Regions from separate parts of the Homo sapiens genome. Here region 2 is linked to region 1. Evidence: promoter capture Hi-C in human tissues and cell types (Jung and others, 2019). All regions are on one chromosome and are shown on one strand. The core of a region is centred on a gene start or on the middle of the fragment in contact, and the rest is flanking DNA. Distances in the headings are between cores, read along the strand shown.

Region 1 (2,836 bases), core at 161-2,660:
CTCTGAATTTTGTGCGATGCCATCTCTGATAGGGACAATGTGATGAACAATGTCTGAGATTGCTAGGTGGGCTTCACTTCTGGGGATGAGAAGCCAGAGAAGTTCAGGACACACTGACAAAGGTGAAGTTTTCTCTAAGCGACAGTTTGATCACCTTGATAGTGAGAGAGAAATGCTGAAGCAGGGTTATACCACCTGGTTTCAAGAGATGAGAGATGAAGGTTTTGGAGAATTCAGCACTTAAGAATCTTGAACCACGGCGGTACACTACTGGGTAATAAGAGCTTGGCTACGCTGAACGACAAAGGTTCTAGCTGGCCAGTCCGAAAACACTGAGTCCTTAGGTCAAATTTGAGAAATGACAGGGCCAGTGGGAGTCCTAACTTCTAGACTCTGGAATTACTGACAGAAGAATATTTGGACAGTTTTTAAGACCCTCAAGGCATATTATTTTACAACCTCTTTAGCTTATGCCTGAATTTGTGCTGTGACTGTTAGCTTCCCGGATGTTTTCTCCACATGCTTCTTTCTGAACTAGCCTGTATAGTTCTACAACAAATTGTTACGTTTTGAGAAGCAGGGACCACTTATACCACTTCTCTGGCCAAGTGTCTGGCACCGCGCCACTCAGACACACACGCCCAACCCTTTAGGATTAACGTAGACACAGTGTTCTCTTCCATGGCCATTCCGTCTCCACTTCTGGTTCCACACTCCAGTCACCAAGTTGGCATGATTGCTGCTCCATAGACCAAGGGTGGGTAATGTGGGGATTAAACACACCTTCCCTCAGCTGGTGCCCAAACTGTAAGCATCACCGGGACACCCCATGTAGCCACAGGAACGCTTCTCATCAGTGGAAGAAGGACAAGAAAGGTCGTGCAAGTTTCAAATTACGTGGAGCTGGGGCTACAGCCATTACTTTCGGACAGGTGCAATTCAAAGCGTGATCCTCCGACCAAGAGCTTCGTCATCGCCACCTGGGAGCTTATTAGAAATGCAGGATCTCAGGTCTCCACCCCAGACCTTCTGGATCAGAATCCGCATTTTAACAAGAGAGTCAAGTGATTCTTATTTATATTAGAATTTGAGAAGTCAATTGATCTGGTAATTGATCAACTGAGTGCCACTTAGCCCCCGAAAACAGAGACCCTTTGTGCCCGCCTCGCACCCGCTCTGCTAGGTAGCAACCGAACCCCCAGAGACATCGGAGCGGGCGCTGCCGAGGGCAATTTGGTGATTGGCTGGTCTCACCACGTGACCGGCGCTGAGCCTTCCGTGCGACCGGATTGGCTGTCGCGGACGCTGACGGACAAGGCCGGGGCGGGCCAGAGCCTGGTCGGAGGGGCGCGCGCGGGGGCCCGAGGGGCGAAGGCGCGAGTGCGCGAGAGCGCGTGCGCGAGCGGTGGGGCTTTCTCCTGAGCCGTCGGAGGGAGCCGGAGCGCTTCTCCCGAGGTAAGCGGCGCTCCGGGGCGTCCCCCCAGTCCTTCCCATGCTGGGTCCCGGCAAGCGGGTTAGGCTGGGCTGGGCGGGGCTCGGGGAGGTGTGGGGTCAGCTTGCCCCGGGAGCCCAGCTTCAGGGAGGATGCAGCCCCGGTTGCCTTGGTTTCCCTTTTCCTATCCTCTCAGGCACCTTCCCATCCTCCCCACTGCGTGACGGGTCTGCCCGAGGGGAGTTGCCCACCTGGCAGCCCTGCCTCCGCCTTTGTTTCCCGCCTGGAGGGTTGCTGGCATGAACCCCCTCCCCAGGTGGAGGGTGCGGGTGATGGGGCGCGGGCGTCAGGAGCGCTGGACCTGGGCTGGGGCCGAGGAGGAGGTGGCTTTAATGCAGGGGGACCTGTCACATGGGGAAACGAAGAAGAAGAAATGTAGTGTCACTTTGGCCAGCCCGAGGGACTCGAACTAATCCTGCGGCCGCGAGCGGAGCCGAATTCCTAGCGCAGCTGTGCGAAGAGCCCTCCTGCCTAGGTGCCGGCGGCCTCGCCGGGGACGGAGCCTCCGTGCTGCCCGGGAGGTTGCTCTGCCGGCTGGACCTGGCGGTTTTCACCCCAGAGTTGCAGCGAAATTGAACGCTTTGAGCCTGCTGGAGGAATCCAGAGATTGGTTCAGGGGCTATTTTTTTTTTTAAGCAGTTGGGCACCGGTGGAGCCGGTCTAAATGAAAGTCTACAAAAACCAATTTCAGATGCAGCGTAACTGATGACTGGTAAATGGTGAGGAGGGAAATGCCTGCAGTGAACTGCAGACCACCACACTGAGATTCTTCCTTAAGAAGATAGGGGTTTTTTTCGGAGGAAAGGTTGTAGTTTCTGCAAACAGGTTTTTCTGGGGGTACCCAGGAAGGTTATTACTTATTTTCAGCATGTTACTGGGTTGTGGGGAGAGGGAAGGCAGGGTCTAAACTAAACCTACTCACACGTCCTTAATTCTTTGAAAAGTGTGTGCTCGATGAAGACCATTTGGCTGCCAAAAGAGGTTTGTATGGGAGTCCGGGGGAGATGGATTGTTGCCTTTAAATCATACTTTAAAAAGGGGAAGGTATGTCCAGGAACTTAAGAGCAGGTCAAGCTATGGAAAGTATTCCCTGCCTCTCCTCCATTTCCCCAGACAGCTCATAGGCAAACATAAAAAGTCCCTTCAATTTTCCACGGGTTAACTTCTTGATTTGTTGGATACACCTGGTAATCTACTCTGTAAGAAATGGTTCAACTAACTCATTATGAAGATATTACTGTGTTCTGGACTTTCCACGTAATTTATTCAGAACTCTTTCTGGTATGAGATGGATAAGGGTCTCTCTACCTTGTCCCTTGGAGACATCCTGATACCTTCAAAGCC
Region 2 (2,836 bases), core at 212-2,711, 52 kb after region 1:
AAAATAAATTTTACTCTCATGTCCTTTGAAAGAAAATGCATATGAATCTTATTTTTGGCTGTAGTTAATTCATTTTTGATAGTTGTTTTTTGGTCCACTTTACTCTGAATGTGCCTCATGGACTCATGTGGTGCTCTATGGGCAGGTGAGTCTAGTGACACCAATTATAGGTTGTCACTTCATATAAATAGTAACTGAAGAAACAGTGAACTTGACAAGGACAGAGAGGAGAAAAGATGTTTGGGAGCAGGAAAAAGGTTGGCTTAATGATTGTCTACCTTCTATAATCCCAGATTAATACCAGGCTGCATGGTTCAGAGGTGCAAGCTATCTCTTGTTTTCTGATTCTTAGGAAAAAATGCTAATGGTCTGGTTGAAAACCTAGTTCATTCATAAACTGACCTGCTGAAGGCAGGTCTGACTATCTTGAATAGACAGCAAATAGATTTGTTTGCTGGCTGTATATCAGCATTTGTAAGAGTTTCAAGTTCAATTAAATGTCAATTTAGCATGTGTTTAATATGTAGAATTTATTCCTGAATCAAACTATGCAAAAATGAAGGGCTCAGCTACTGGAATTTAAAGGCAAGTTCTTACTCTGTCAGCCCTGTGGGTTGAACATAGGTTGTAGATTAAAATGAGACCAGCAAGCATGAAGAACACCTTAACAATGGAAGGTGGTGGCCAGTGGGTTTTAGAGGCATGTTACTGAAACCCTGGAAACTTTGTGGCCAGTGCCTAAGTACAAAATGAATCATTACCTGAGAGAGAGATCATTGTTTTAAAAACATGTAGATTGTCACTGTAGGATCTGTAGTCTTTCCCATTAAAACGAAACAAAAAACTTCCCTGAAATCTTTCATACAAAACACCTGGAACCAAGCAAAAGGTCATCAGGGAGCATTTCTTGAACTCTCTGGCATTTCAAGGCAGTGATGTCATTCTTATTGCTTGATAAACATAACAATTCTTCAGGAGTCTTTTTCCTCCCATTTAATTTAAAAGGGAACTATTACATAGCTGCTGTATTGTTGGGATTAAGTAATAGGGGCGTGAGGCCCTTGTATCTTTAGGATTCTTTCCCATCTCAGCTGTAGGCAGACACTTTTGGGACAAAGCCATCAGTAAGCATCAGTAAGTCATTTCGCATTACTATAAAGAAATAATATATTCATATATTGCCAAGTAAAGCTTGAGAAGTCAATGCACTACCATTCTCTTAAGAATTATCGTAAGAAATTTCAAAGGCGCATTTTTAAGAGTGGGGCAATCTCCCATGCAGTCAGCATCCACAGAAACTCATTGGTTAGCAGTTTGGAGTTTTTCCTTCCGGTATAATTTACATGCATATAGGGATATATTTTTATTTTATAAAATTAAGATCATACTGAATTTAAGGACATATATCTTACATTTTCACACATCTTATAATTTACTATGTCACTAAATATTCTTAGAGAACTTGAAAGTATTCTATTATATGGAGCTCCCAGAATTTATTAACATACTGCTTTTGTTAAATGATAGTTATCTGCTGTTTTTTACTTTTATAAAAGTGATGATCATCCTTGCACATTAGATTAATATTTGTGAATTTTTAGGGTAAATCACTGTAAGTAAAACTATTGGGTTAAATATATACATTTTTAATAAACATTGCCAGAATACTTCCAAAAAGCTGATTCCAATTTGTAATTCCTGTAGAAGTACATGAGAGTATCTATTTCAATGTAGTCTACTGACACTGTTACTGTTAAAAATATTTCCTAGATTCTTAGATAAAACATGGTATCTTATTTTAATTTGTATATCTTTGATTACCTGAGAAATTGAACTTTTCCATATATTTGTTACTTGTATTTATTATTGTCCTGGCTTTTTCTGTACTCTAGATCCTCTTTACAGGGATCTTCTGTTCAGGTAGGCTTCCCCAGTGAGTGTGAATTATGGGGCAATAATAGATTGTAACTAACCACAAACCAGGCCAAGGGACAGCTATTCTTATGGACTTGTTGACTAGATCAGTGGCTTTTATGTCTACTTAATGCACATCTGTCATAACTTTCTGTTTCTTATTTATTCTTCCCCTGACATTTATTGATTATGATGCATAATATGGTTTAGTAAGCTGCTAAGGAAACCATGTGATGGGTGGGATAATTTTTCTTATCAGGAATTTACAAATTAATTAGTATCATACTTGAAAACTTTGCATTTGTCATTAAAGAAGTTAAATACCACTCTACTTATTCACCAGCTACTTATTCAAATACTTTGGCCTAGGGAAGACTGTGAGAGGTTATCAAGTTCATTTTTCTGCCATTAGGCAAAACCTAATCAAACGAGGCTAGAAGAGGCAGTAGAGAAATGTAAAGTATTGCCTCTCCCAGCCTCATTTGATTAGGCTTTGACTAAAGGCAGAAAATGAACTGATGAAGAAATATTTCTCTGATTTGAGAGACTTCTTATAAAAAAAAAACAAAACCCAAACCATCATGGTAGCATAAGAGCATGAATGTATCATGATTGTTTTGAGCCTCTCAGAGAAAACGCATTATTTGGTATCTACTCTTGCTAATCATCAACTAGTTTGTCCCTGTCTAATAAGATGCTGAGTCTATAAAGTATGATGACTTCAGTAGTACTTGGAGCTTCCAAATTGCAAGGCATGTCTTGGGAGGAAGACGACAGCTTTTCCTCTTCTGCTAAACTGAGGCACTCTTCTCTGATACCTATTGAAATGGTAGAGATGGTAGTCAAGAGGAAACAACCCATCATTTGAGCCTTGATTTTATAAACAGTTTAGTAATACATAGAAGTCAACTTCATTCCAGAT

Evidence for each region. Contacts are between HindIII fragments. The study calls those that stand out against the background at their distance.
Region 2: a contact is called between a fragment that was not itself captured here and the fragment with the promoter of TMEM108 in region 1, in 2 of the 25 tissues and cell types used here (pancreas and psoas muscle).

Annotation. Positions count from the first base shown.
Region 1 is chr3:133,036,981-133,039,816 of GRCh38, forward strand. TMEM108 (transmembrane protein 108) reads left to right here and starts at 1,411. Exons shown (of 6, transcript NM_023943.4): 1 at 1,411-1,455. RefSeq lists an enhancer at 1,105-1,399. The HindIII fragment of the contact is 13,936 bases long and covers 1-2,836 here.
Region 2 is chr3:133,089,389-133,092,224 of GRCh38, forward strand. All of the region lies in intron 2 of TMEM108 (transmembrane protein 108), which reads left to right. Among named protein-coding and RNA genes, the nearest start is that of TMEM108, 52 kb to the left of the region's middle. The HindIII fragment of the contact is 4,180 bases long and covers 1-2,836 here.